Regions from separate parts of the Homo sapiens genome. Here regions 1, 2 and 4 are each linked to region 3. Evidence: promoter capture Hi-C in 16 types of primary human blood cells and fetal thymus (Javierre and others, 2016). All regions are on one chromosome and are shown on one strand. The core of a region is centred on a gene start or on the middle of the fragment in contact, and the rest is flanking DNA. Distances in the headings are between cores, read along the strand shown. Region 1 has its middle 140 kb from the start of SNORD155. Region 2 overlaps GAP43 (growth associated protein 43). Region 3 holds the start of ZBTB20 (zinc finger and BTB domain containing 20). Region 4 overlaps GAP43 (growth associated protein 43).

The links. Contacts are between HindIII fragments. The CHiCAGO score rates a contact against its expected background, and 5 or more counts as called.
Region 1: a contact is called between a fragment that was not itself captured here and the fragment with the promoter of ZBTB20 in region 3, in 4 of 17 cell types (fetal thymus, naive CD8 T cells, endothelial precursors and 1 more). The highest score is 7.2, in fetal thymus.
Region 2: a contact is called between a fragment that was not itself captured here and the fragment with the promoter of ZBTB20 in region 3, in 6 of 17 cell types (M1 macrophages, naive B cells, M2 macrophages and 3 more). The highest score is 7.0, in M1 macrophages.
Region 4: a contact is called between a fragment that was not itself captured here and the fragment with the promoter of ZBTB20 in region 3, in 4 of 17 cell types (total B cells, M1 macrophages, fetal thymus and 1 more). The highest score is 8.3, in total B cells.

Annotation. Positions count from the first base shown.
Region 1 is chr3:115,766,080-115,769,437 of GRCh38, forward strand. No RefSeq gene overlaps it. Among named protein-coding and RNA genes, the nearest start is that of SNORD155, 140 kb to the right of the region's middle. The HindIII fragment of the contact is 2,065 bases long and covers 550-2,614 here.
Region 2 is chr3:115,689,476-115,692,673 of GRCh38, forward strand. The region is part of intron 2 of GAP43 (growth associated protein 43); the gene reads left to right. Among named protein-coding and RNA genes, the nearest start is that of GAP43, 68 kb to the left of the region's middle. The HindIII fragment of the contact is 7,513 bases long and covers 1-3,198 here.
Region 3 is chr3:115,145,923-115,149,466 of GRCh38, forward strand. It overlaps ZBTB20 (zinc finger and BTB domain containing 20), which reads right to left and starts at 1,366. Exons shown (of 12, transcript NM_001348800.3): 1 at 1,297-1,366. RefSeq lists enhancers at 42-151, 1,882-2,091 and silencers at 832-1,101, 1,412-1,581, 2,142-2,361. The HindIII fragment of the contact is 9,545 bases long and covers 187-3,544 here.
Region 4 is chr3:115,665,623-115,669,123 of GRCh38, forward strand. All of the region lies in intron 1 of GAP43 (growth associated protein 43), which reads left to right. Among named protein-coding and RNA genes, the nearest start is that of GAP43, 44 kb to the left of the region's middle. The HindIII fragment of the contact is 1,167 bases long and covers 1,553-2,719 here.

The DNA.
Region 1 (3,358 bases), core at 332-2,831, 620 kb after region 3:
AGCATTCACAGCTTGTGCATCGCTGCCATGAAATCTTCCTAATGCTCCCAGAATCATCCCAATTATCAGGTATTCATATGCCTTCTATGCTTCCCACAGATTGTTCTACAGGGGCATGTCTTGAGTGAGGTGGCATGTTTCTGTTCACCCTGCCTTTTAGAGACCCAGAGCCGTCCAGAAGTGAAAAGCATGTGGAAGGATGCACGTTCCTGATGAAGATCAGAGGAAACTCCCAAGGCCGCAGAGTGCCTTAGCTCTTGGGAAGGAAATACCCACACCAGGTGGTGCTTGTCAGCAAATAGATTTAGTTTTATATTTTATGAGAGTATTACTTCTGGGTCAGGTTTTCATTTTCATTCTGTGTAGGTGCATATTGTTAAATTCCATTTCCTATAGGCACAAAATGTATTACCTCTGTTTTACCATCCTCTAGATATGGAAAACCATGTAAAGGACTAAGACAACTTTTATTGTGGACACACTGAATGCAAACGTGCTCTTAGACTCTAGCAAGCAGAGAGGGAACAACAGGTTTAACTCCAAGTTCTAAGCTTATAACTGAAAAGCTGTCCTGCAGGGAAGGAGGCACACAAATCCAGCTCAGAGCTTCCAACCTTTCTCAGGGTTTGTTCTTGCAGAATACAATTGAAGAGTGATTTACATGGTAGTAAGATAAAAGAAGTATAAACAGCTCAGCTATGACTCAGCTCATCTTGACTCCTTCACACAGGGCACAAAAACAGTCAGATGCTTCAAAGTTAGAAGGACCAGAAAAGGAAAATCTGCAAAGGAAAGCCTTTGAAAAGAAATTTGGCAAAGGGCCTGATCTACAAAGCTGATTTTCCCTGGTATAAAATGTCCCCATAGCACAATGCTTTTTATTCTGGATGAAGTGGGCTATAGAGAGGGTGACAGATGACTCACCCACCCTGAAAATTAGAGCTCATGACTTGATATGTTCACGTTAACCGGAAGAGATAAAAAGATGGGAAAGGTAAGACCCTGTTAATTCACTGTAGGGATTTAGGGGGAGGATAGACGGGGCCAACATCTTGGTGAATCCTTTTTCTCACAGTAGTTACTTGTACTGTCATTGAGCACTGAGACTAAGGAGCAGGCAGATCAGAAAAGTGATTTCTCATCCCACTCTATTCAGCATTAATGGCACAAAATCCCATTAGTGCATTCTAGGGGTTCATTTCAAAACAGACAATGGCCTCTGAATCAGCCTGCCATGCATAATCATCCGGCAATAGGGAAATTACACAATCAAAAATTTATCAAAAGACCACGAAAGGCAGCTATGTGAGGTCATGCCCATTCCTTCTTTAGCAGGGAGGAGGAGACATCACTTTAAGACCAGCAAGATCGATTTTTGTTTCATAACCATAGCTGGATTCACATGATCAGTCCAGAAAAGATAAAACTCTTTTGAAGGAGAAAGTGAAAGGAAGGAGTCTTGTTATTATAATTATTTTATAAATAGGTGAAAATAATTTTATCCCCCTTAGGCATTCTTATGTTCTATATCAACTTTTTTAAAGAAAATTCTCCCACATTCCCTTTTATTATAATTGAAATTCAAGTCCTAGAGGGTTGTCCAGTGTCCTATCTTTAGCCTCTACTCTCTCCTAGCCTCTACTCTCTCCTAACCTTGGGACCTGCTTTCCCAATAGTTTGTCAGACTTTATCACATGGATTTTCTTCAAATCCATGTCTGGCATTAAAATATCGTCATGCTTATCCTTTCAGACACATTTATTGGTACATTTATATAGTTCTTTTTTGGTTTTAACATGCATTCACATGCATTATCTTGATTCCTACAACCAGGGTGTAGCCAATGTTATCAGTGGGATGACTCCCAAATCCTTCTCTCTGTTTTCTATTCTTACTACCATCACCCAGTTTAAAATTTTATTATACTGAACTATGGTCATTGCAGTTTTTATCCTGATCTTTGTGTCTTCAGTCATTCCCTTCTTCAAATTCTCCTGCTGCTAAAGCAATCTTATAATAGCAATGCTTTGTTTAACTCTCTTTTGCCTAAATGGTTTGAATTATTGGCTTAAATGAATGGATTCAATTATTTACTATTTAAAAATTAAAGCCCTTCTGCCTAGCATTTAAAGCCCTCAATAAAAAGGCCTAAATCACCTTTTATAAATCTTCATTTTGTCCATCATTTCCCATCTACACATATACTTCCTTTGGTTAGATCTCCTGAGTCCACTATGCCACATCTCCCTGAGTAGCTGGCCCCATCTATCTGAACACAGCTGATTGGCAGGGATAGACACCTGACCCAGCTGGATTAATCAGATTATCTTCCTAAGGAATTTGGATTTAAGACTCAGCAACTCAGCCCAGTCGATTACCTAATGTTACTGGGCCTGGATGACACTATAGATAAAATTGTATGACTGTCATTTTGCAGCAGCTATTTGTATGCTGAGACCTCAAAGAAAGGAGCACTCTGCAGATAGAAGCAGGTAAATGGGGCCAAAATCCAGAAAAGGGTAAAAATTAGATGCTTGGAAAGAGAGACAAGAGATGGAAAGTAGATGGCTTTGCTCTTGAAGGCATTCCTGCTTTCCATTCTATACAATAATGAAGCTTAGCTGCTGTTCCTGCCCTTTTTTCTCATGGGTTCTAGTTCTTAGAATAAATTCCCGTTAACTTATGGTAGTTTAGGTGAATTTCTATATCTTGCAACCAAACAGTCCCTGGCTAAAAAATATCCCTTCGAGACAGCCAGATCAGCCTTTTGCCAGACCTGAAGTACATCTTGCCATTTCTCACACCATCTGTCAGAAAGGCCCTCTACTTTCATCTGCTCACATCCTTTAGCATTCACTTCAAATGCCACGTTTTTATCCACACTTCCATAATCACCCCTCTCTCATGGATAAAGCAAATTCCAGCAATTCTGCAACCTGAAAGCAACAGGAGAATTTCAGGAATTAACTTCTGATCTACTGGATTTTTAGACAAATGAGAAGAACCAGAGCAACCTTCTGTTTTATTTTAAAAGAAAGAAAAACATCCTCTCTTGTTTACACTTAGGAACAAATCAACTCAACGAATTAAGAGGGGGCATTGAACTAAACCTCTTGTCTCCATCCCTCTTTTGGCCAGGGCCTTGCGTCTACACCTTTGCATCTACACTCTTTACCAAATCCTGATTTTCAAGTTATTTCAGTGATGTAATCGCATGAGTCCATTTTAGTGGCACTAAAGGTCTGGAGGGGAGCACACTTTCCCAGACACAACTTCCCTGGGTGCTCCCTCTCCTCCTGTGTCAAGCATCCCAAATTGGCCACTTCTGACTGCCGGCTCCCACTGAATTTGCGGCCCA
Region 2 (3,198 bases), core at 84-2,583, 540 kb after region 3:
TTGAAGCCCCACAAGAAAAGCTAAGAGTTTTTCAGGCAAGTGTCCATCTTTATTGCTTGCAGCCCAGTTCTTTGGAATTTTATACATCAGCAACTTCTTTTCCATGACCCATTTCTAAATATTTCCTAGGCACCCAGACACTCTGAGTCTGAATGAGGATATTTGATTGAGAAGGAAAATTGGTCAGAATGTGAAAAAGGAAGGTGGGCCCTTAGGAGGAACAAGGTGGGGATGTGGATAGAGATTCTTTACTTCCTATAGAGAAAAGGGAGAGTAGGAGGGAAGAATAATGGGGTAGAAAATGGAGAAAAAAGTGGGAGGAAAAAAAGCAGAAGAGGACCAGAAATCGATCAGGGGAGGCAGAAAGAATAAGCAAGGGCAAAGTGGAGAAAGAATAGATGGTAGAAAAGAGAAAGAAGGAATAATAGGCGAGAAAGCAAGAGGTGTGGGAGAAGCAGGGCTGGAGGGGCGCTGAAGAGCAGGGGAAGGCACTGACTGAGCTGAGTACCAAGAGACAGCCGTGGTTTTCTTGTAGCTCTGTTTCTGACAAGCTCTCTGGCCATGGCCAAGGCCAATTTACCTTCCTTGCTGGTAAAAGATGGTTTTATGGGATCTTCCAGCACTAGCGCTCTCTGTTCTTGGCTTCACAAACAGCAGGCCCTAAAGGGTTCCTTGACAAATGGATTTTCTGTCTTTGAGCAGATCTAAGTGGCAGATGGGGCACAGCTCCCCTAGGAGAGACCCCCCCGCCACCCCCTGCCCACCATTGTCTGAGCCCTTCTGCAGCATCAGTCCCCAGCCAGCGCTGCCTCAACAAACCAAGAGACATTGTCTCTGCTTGCTTCCAGACAGGAAAAGAAAAGGATTGAGTTTCATAATCTCACAATTTTAAATGTAGGCCTATTTCCATAAGAAGTTTCAGATTACAAGGCATGTTTCAGAAACATTTTTTTACTTTGAACACCTCATAAAGAGACAGTCTTGGAACTGGACAGTCCTGGGTTCAACCTCAGGTTCCTCACTGCATGGTTTTAATGATTTGTATAACCTTCAGTGTCTTCATCTATAAGATAGAGATTAAAATGTTACCCTTAAACAGTTGTGATGAGGATTTAATGAGGTAACATATTTAAAGAACCAGGTATAGAGTAGGTCCTCAATTATTATCATTTTGCCTAAGTTTTCTTCTGATAATCTGAAATAATCACTTTTGATCCTCATACTCTCCTCTCCCCATATGAAGATCCTCTGGGCAAATCTTTTTTTTTTTTTTCTTTCTTTCTTTTTTTTTTTTTTTTGAGACGGAGTCTCCCTCTGTCGCCCAGGCTGGAGTGCAGTGGTGCAATCTCAGCTCACTGCAAGCTCCGTCTCCCAGGTTCACGCCATTCTCCTGCCTCAGCCTCCTGAGTAGCTGGGACTACAGGCACCCGCCACCATGCCCGGCTAACTTTTTGTATTTTTAGTAGAGATGGGGTTTCACCATGTTAGCTAGGATGGTCTCAATCTCCTGACCTCATGATCCACCCGCCTCGGCCTCCCAAAATCCTGGGATTACAGGCATGAGCCACTGCGCCTGGCCCCCTCTGGGCAAATCTTAAAATTGAAGATGGTAAAAGCATGGATAATCTGTCATCTTCCTACAGGTAAAATAGTGGAAGAAATTACTTCATCCAGCAAATAAAGAGAACAATGGTTTCTTGGTGACCCAAAGTAAAGTATTTCAGAGTACTATTTTGTATTCGAAGTAATACAAAAGACAAATATATTATTCAGTGGATACTGCAACAATAGACAGAATTGCAACAAACATGAATTTAGCCAAATCTCTTGCTTGGAGGCCTGCAGTGGAGGAGAAATATCAGAGCGATCTTGGAATCGGACCTATCTATGTTTGAATCAAAGGTCCAGTCCCTAACCAGCTCTATGCCATTAATTCAGCGTCAGCTTTGTCATTGTGAAATAAAATATCCTCATTGCTGAACTTGGTGGTTGTCGGTATTAAATAGATCATGTGTAAAAGGTGTCTATTATGGTATTTTATTGAACACACAGTAAGTGCCTAATAGAAAGTCACCATTGTTCCTGTTCCTTTCAGCTGAAGCTATTGGGGAACTTTCTTTTTCTTTGGTACTACACCTGATTTTATGAAGGAAATTAACGTGCAAATAGGACATGATTTATGGCCAGCAAGAGAGACACATAATGATTTGCAGTCTCTTTTGGGAGTCAGAGTCTATTCTATTTGGCCTACCTTGTAGCTCAGCAACATTACCAAGTCCTTACATTATCAGTAATGATTGAGCCTGGAAGTCAGCCAAGGTTACCAGGTAGTGATGTTAGGGTTAATTTGGGCTTCATGTAATTTGTCCCTCAGAAACTGCAATCTAGGGATTCAATAGAAAAGGTTGGGATACCTTAAGGGAAATAGCTAACACACTCTTTCCAGGTAGATACCAGCTATAACTTGTCACATCTTGTATTTCAATCCTACAGTCTTAGACCTAAAAGGAAACTTAAAAATTGCCTAAGCCTGGGAACTGGATGGGCTTCAGGAGGGTTCTTTCATCTCCTAAGATTATTTGCAACATGTTATACTGTGTGTGCATACGGATGATATTCTTGGCAAAATGACCTTGTCTTTCATCAGATACTCTACTGGGACCACTGCACAAAAATATTATGATGCACTATGCTTGAACAATCTCCAGGAGAAGTTGTGTGTGCCTGTGTTTTAATGAACGATGAAGCATGTTCTGGGATTCAGTTGCATGGTCTGGCCATGGTCCCACAATGAGTTAGCATCAGAATAGAGGAGATAAACCCAGATATCGCAAGGACTGTATTCTACTGTCATTCAATTAATTTGTACTTATTAATACGTATAATTTCCACACTACACAGGCATTGTGAGGGATGTAGATTATAAAAGTGAATATCTGTTGTCATGGAAGTTACAGTCTGGATGGGGAGAAAAGTAAGGCTCTTAAAAGAAAACAGAAACAAAAAAGACTCAGTACCAGTATAGAACAAAATAAGTCTGTGACTGCTTGCAAACTGCAGTCTGTAGTTGTGGCAAAGGAATTCAGAGACCACGATAGTGGGTAGGGTCTGAAGAAAAGAAATGAGCATTATGATGAAGCATTGGTGAGGATACCGGCCTTAGTAGTTTGTGCCAGTGAGGAGAAGGTAGGGTATGTT
Region 3 (3,544 bases), core at 116-2,615:
AATGGCCTCTATAATTTTTTTAGCTGAAATGTATACACCGCCACGCAGTGAGGAAACTTGACTTTAGCACCCTTTTGGTATTTTTAATAGAAAAAACAGTGGAGAAGATTTTCACATGTCTAGAAAGGTAACATGTTCAACTTAGGTTTGGCCAATGCTGATTCTGAGGACAGTACTACACCCGCAAGCTTCCAAACTACTTCCTGATTCATTCAGATTTTCATTGGAGAGCTGTCATCCTGCTACTGACCTCATTCAACCCAGTTCGGAGTGAGAGATCAGCGGATTACCGCGCTAGGTACCGTAGCTGTACGCCATATTGTGTTTTTCGCTAATGTTTAGTTTGTGTGTGTGCCTAGCATATGTTTGTGCAAGTGTGTTTATCAATAGAACTTTTAGAAAATCCCTGCCTCCTGCCTCTTCAGCATCCTTAAAAAGGATAACAGCTGGGGGCGGGGGGTGGGGGGAGGACCCAAAAGCCACACAGACAGGAATACATTAAACAGTGTACGAGAGACGGCATTTGTTTTAAACTTTCAAGAACCTTCCAACCATTTTTATATCAGGAATCAAAAAGTGTTAACATGTTTTAATGTTTCCGAAGTGGCCCAAAGAAGAGAAAGAAGGAAAGGTGTGTCTTCCCTTCCCAAGCCCCCTCCTCTCTAGTCGTAGAAGCGAAGCAGGCGGGGGCCGGGAGCTCCGGCGTCTGGAGAGACATCCAGCGGCTGTGGGGCCAGGACACCTCCTGCCCCCCAGTTCTCTGAAGACGCTCCAGAGACCGCGAGAGCCACGGCAAGCGGGGGAGGGCGAGGAGGGAGGGGGCAGAAGACAAGCGGGCGCCTCTAGCAGCTCCTGAGCCCCGGCTAGTCCCCCTCAGCTCCTCTTCTTGGAAGCAGCGGCTCCAGGCGCAGGGAGTAGAGAGAAGAAGGCAGAAGACACGTTTCCAGCTGCGGGACGTCCCGCCCGCCCCGCCACCCTTCGACCCTCCCGCGCCTCCCTCCCACCTCCCCGCCGGGTCGGGCGAGGCAGCCGCCGGGCGCTAAGAAGGGCGCCGGGGGAGGGGGCGCGGGCGGGGCGGGGCGGGGCGGGGCGCGGGGGCGCGCGCGCTCATCCAGCTCAGGGCCCGCTGGCTCGCCGCTCTGTAACTCGCTCCCCCAACCCCACCCCGCTCCCCTCCTTCCCAGTCCCGCCGCCCCCCACTCCAGGCGCCTCGCAGACGCCTCATCCCCCTCGGCACGCACACACTCCTCCCTCTCTCCCGCCCGTCCCACAACAAATTAGAGTTTGTGGCATTACCTCCTCGCGCTCTTTAATCTTCTTTCCTCAACTCCTAAACTTCCCCCCGCCCCTACTTCTTCGGCAGAAGGCCCACATTGGACGCTTCACTCCGCGAACCCTCTATCTCTCCCCGCTATAGGATAGCTCTCACGCCAATCTTGGCTTCAGTGAGCCAATGAGAATGGGACGCCCCTCGTGAGGTTGCCGCCCATAAACAAAATGCACTCTTCCTTCTCCCCTCCGCCCCCCCGTCCCCGCCCCTTTCTTCCTCTTCCCTCATCTCTGTCACCTTCGATTGGGCTAAAAGAGGCCCAATCCGCTATCTCAAACATCCATTGGGACGCGGAAACTTCGCTCAGAGAAGTATTAACAGGCGATTGGTGGACAATCCTTCCACTTCGCCCACCCCCACAACCCCCTCCCCCCGCCGCACCTTCACCCTTTCTGAAAAGGTCAATCGTATCTCGTTGTTCAGTGATCCGGGAGGTGGAAGGCTATTGGTTCAGGGAGCCCGTCAGACCGGACTGGAGTGAGCCATGATTGGTCGACACAGGCGCAATCAGGTTAGGTTGCTTACTCCTCCGCTCCTCCCTCCTTTTCCTCCACGCCCCATCTCCCCCACCCCCTACTGCTTTTACTTTCTACGCATTTCTATTTCCTCCTTTATTTATTTATTTGTGATAAACTTAAATGACCCGGCGACGGAGGCGGTACTCTAGGAGAAGGCTGAGGATGACGAGCGGCGGCCTGGGGCCAATTGCCGAGAGGGCTGCGGGGTGAGGGGCAGCGGCGGTGGCCAGTGAGAGGCAGGTGTCTGGAGCGCGCTGGGCCTGTGGAGCCGGGATGCCCCAGCGGAGGCGGCGGTTACCCGCTGTCTGGCGCGGCGAGCTGCGCCGGGGGAGCCGCGGGAGCGGAGAGGGGGGTGTCGCTGTCTTGGACAGCTGAGGCAGCGGGATGGAGGCTGGATCCCGGGCGGTGGGTGGGAAAGCCGGAGGGAGGGTCTGGCTGGCGGCAGCGCGCAAGGCCGCACCGGGTCACGCTTGATTCCCGCGGAATGGGGCGCAGGTTGCCAGACCGGGTCCCCAGTGCTAGGGCTCAAGGAAGAATTTGTTCATGCAGAAGATTTAGAAAAATACTATGTAAAAGAGTTTGGAGTAAGCCTCCCTTAATATAAATGAGATTTATTATCCTGCCGGAAAAAGCAGATTATGTTTCTTATTACTGAACGCCTGAAGTACCAACGACTCAACCAGAGCCCACAGAATTCAATATCCTGGGTGGTAAAAGGAACAAATAAAGCAACACGGAAAATTAAGTGTGGTTCAAATGCTTCAATAAAATCTTCGTCCTCAACCATTTGTCATTCAACATAGCACTCCCCAGAGCCAAATTCTTACCAAATATTGGTCCAGTACTCAGGCATTGGAGAAAAAAATGAGGCTGAAGTCCAGCAGGAAGCCCAGGATAGATTCCTAAAAAGGATTTCTTACAAGGGCCAAGATGGGAGGGTTGGGGAAATCGCTTTTCACTATACAAAGAAAAAAAAATAATTACTGCCAAACTAAGTTGCACTTTTTTAGGCAGCTGATATAGCAATATTTTGTCACAAAATAAGAGACTTTATCAAAAATACCATGCATGCAAAGAATACACTGTACTTGGGATTTGAAAATGACATTGTTTCTAGGACATGGATTTGATGTATAATTTCCAATAGACTTAAGTCATCTGGATTTTAACCCAGGCTTCTTTGGAACGTACAGCATGCTTTCACATAAGATGCCTGGTTAGAGGTCTTTGACAGAAACTAAGCAAAATAAATTGGCCCTGGTGAAAAAAAAAAAAGTAAGGGCCTTGACCTCATTAATACTATTAAAGCTATCTTGTGAGGATTATATGTATGAGGCTTTGAGAATCCAGAAAATTACTGTGTGTGGTGTCAATTTTGAAGTCTGGGAATTGCTAGTGAGTTTGGAAGCCAAAACACTTTTAAACTTATATATAAATCTTAGCTAAAAAGTGATATTGACTGGGTGCAGCTGCTCACACCTGTAATCCCAACACTTTAGGAGGCCAAGACAGGCGGAACACTTGAGGTCAGGAATTTGAGAGTAGCGTGGCCAACCTGGTGAAACCCCGTCTCTACTAAAAAATACAAAAATTAGCCGGATGTGGTGGCGCACACCCGTAATCCTAGCCACTAGGGAGACTGAGGCAGGAAAAATCGCTGGAACTCGAGGCAGAGCTTGCAGTGAGGCGAGATCGC
Region 4 (3,501 bases), core at 886-3,385, 520 kb after region 3:
ATGGGGTCTTAAATTCCTTCTCCCACCAACTAGACTTTTAGCATGCATTCTGACACGTATTGTGTATCCTTACTAGATATGAGGTATATAATATTTGGGCTTTACTAACTATCCAGTGGGGGTGCATTGGATATACTTGGCTTGGCAATTTCAAATTATAATGATCTTCAGTACCAGATGCTCTTAAGCTAGTCCCCTACAAATGTCTGGCAGCTTCATTTGTAACTTTTATCAGGCTTGAGTATTACCACACACAAGCACATAGAGTAGCTCTCAGAACCTGCAGAGGCAATTGTTTTACTAGATGTGTGAGGGATATAGTTGGATCAATGGGATAGATACTGTATATGAAATAGTGGCTAAATGAGTGTGTGTGTGTGTGTGTGTGTGTGTGTGTGTGTGTGTGTGTGGTTGGGGGATGTCAGGTGAAGGTCACATATTTTGGGAATGAATAGATTTCTAGTTTCAGTGAATTTCTATCACTAAGCTCCTACACTAGGTGAAGTTTTGGGGGGTGGGTAAGTTAGAGAAGACTGAGAAGGAATCAGTTGGTGTGTGTCAGGTGATAGTAGAGTGGGACTGTGGTTTAACTTTGACAATGTAAACAGATCTTCCCCCTTCCCAAGATAAGAAAGAACAGAGTTGAGTACTATGGCACATTTTACATGGTTTCCTGCTTATCTCTTTCTTTGAGAATAGATATAGCTCAGTAGTACTGTCGAGTTAAGAAATAGCTTTTCCACCCTCTGAGTGATGATACCTACAATCATCAGGATGAATACAGTCTCATGACCAAATCTCCTCTGGTATTTGTCTTATCAACATGCCTTAACTTAATGTCACGATGCTCTAGAAATTACTCTGAGAGAATAATGGTGATGGCAATAATTATGATGAGAATAATGGTAGCAGCCACCCCTTTCTGAGTATGTACAAAGTGTCAGGGACTGTGCTGGGTGCTTTATGTGCATTAACTCATTTGATTCTCATATCAGCCCAATGGGATAGTTTTTTTATTCCCTCATCCTGCAGATGAGGAGCCTAAAGCTGACTTGCCCAAGGTCAGGATCTACCAAGTAACTGGCAGAGCTGGAATTCAAACTTACACATGTCTAACTCCGCAGCCCATGCTCTTAAGCACCAGGGAATATTGACTTTTACAGGAGGAGGACTAAGCAAGGGCTTTGTCATTCAGAAGCTGGATGACGCTGGACTCCTTCCTGGTTCCTCATCTGTGTTGATTATAAAACAGGCACAGTGATGTGTTCCTCACATGATCATGATGAGGATTGAATTGAAATACTAAATATATATACTGTGCACTTATAAATGTAAGAAGAGAGAGGAAAATGACTGCTGGAGAGTGGCGTGATGAAGGCTCCAGCATTAGTGACCTGGAGCGAGAACACCCAGCCAGTGAGCTGAGTGTTCACACACAGAGAGTTTACACACTCTCTGAGCACCAACACAGTATGGCATGTGGTCATGCAACAACTAAAAATAACATTTTTTTTTAGTATCAACTATGTGCCAGCACTATTTTAGCCACTGAAGCTTAGAAGATTGTAAAAAAACAGATAAAGTTCTGTTCTCAGATTGTTTATAGCCCAAGCGAAGTTCAGTTAGTAATAAAATAAAAACATACAGCAGATGATCATAAGAACTAAGAGGGGAAAGACAGAGAAGTGGACCAAGAGTGACAACATTTGAAGAAGGGTGTGTGGTAGAGTGGGTGAGAAAAGTCTCTGACTCATTTATTCATTGAACAAAATGTCTCAAGTACCTGCTGACTCAGACTGTAACTTATGAAGGGGGTTTAATTAAGAAAAAATAGATGAACAATCATTATTTGTTATAGTAGGAAGACTGTAGTAATTTAAGAAAATACTTATCTTATTGCATCTCACATTTTTGAGTATCCAACAAAAGACACTTCGCAGTGTCTTACCTGGAAGGAAGATTGTTTTATGCTAAGTTCCCTGGGCTCTGGGGCCCTCTTCCTGCTGGTGAGCTCTGACCATCTTCAGGAGCTTGGCATGTGCTTTGCTCTTGGGGCCTCTCAGCTGGGAAAGATTTGCCTCTGGTGGTAGTACAGGGGTTTGTCTGCTGGTAAACTGCTTTTCTGTCTTTTTCTTGATGCATTGGCTTCCTGCAGCTCTTCTTCTGTCTTCAGTTGCTAGCAGAAGAGGCCTCACAGTCCCTCTCATGGACTGGTCTGTGATAGCCTTTTTAGCTGAGTGATGGGGAGTTCCACCCTTTTGTTCCTAGCTCACAGTGGCTGCTAAAGGCATAGCAACCTCTCTGAGAGCAGAGTCTAGTGTCCCCCTCACTTTGCCAGCCCTTCTGTCCTTTGAGCATGTCATTTCTTGAGGGAATCAACATGTGCTTCTGTAATGGGCAGTGTTCATCAGAGGGTTTGCTCCCATTGCTCAAGAGTAGAGATGCTTCCTCCCAGGGCTGACTTCCCATAGGTATTTTCCTGAGTCTCAGTGATTTTGACCCTTGATTCAGTTAGGTAACTTATACCTATGTCTGCTATATCCAAAAGTTTTCTAGAGGAGTTTAGTCAAGTGATTCTGTCTGGCTTGTGCCTTGGTACATGACCAGCATGATTAACGTGCCTCATCGCAACACTGGGCTCTTCCAACCCCTGTTTAGGGAAGGAGACTTCCTTCCTTGAATAACTAAGGGACTAGTTATTCCCAGCCTACTCCCCTTAAGCTTTGGAGAGCAATACACAGATTAAATATAAATAGTAGGGAGCAGAGATTCTCCAGCAATCTCCCATGAATATTTTCACCACTTTTATTTATTTATTTGAGACGGAGTTTCGCTCTTGTTGCCCAGGCTGGAGTGCAATGGTGTGATCTCAGCTCATCGCAACCTCCGCCTCCTGGGTTCAAGCAATTCTCCTGCCTCAGCCTCCCAAGTAGCTGGGATTACAGGCATGTGCCACCACACCTGGCTAATTTTGTATTTTTAGTAGAGACAGAGTTTCTCTATGTTGGTCAGGCTGGTCTCAAACTCCTGACCTCAGGTGATCTGCCCACCTCAGCCTCACAAAGTGCTGAGATTACAGGCATGAGCCACAGCACCCAGCCACTTTCACCAGTTTTGCTAGTGAAAACGCATATAAGCAGGGAGCAGTGCCTCACACTGTAATCCCAGCACTTTGGGAGGCCGAGGCAGGAAGATGGCTTGAGTCCAGGAGTTTGAGACCAGCCTGGGTAATATGGTGAAATGTTGTCCATCTCTACAAAAAATATAAAAATTAGCTGGGCATGGTGGCACATAGCTGTAGCCCCAGCTATTTGAGAGACTGAAGTGGAAGGATTGCTTGAGCTTGGGAGGTCAAGGCTGCAGCAGTCATCTGAGATAGTGCCACTGCGCTCCAGCCTGGGTGACAGAGAGTGACCCTGTCTAAAAAAAAAAAAAGAAAGAAAAAGTACACACACACACACACACACACAGAAAAATAATTTTATTGATATGACTCTAACG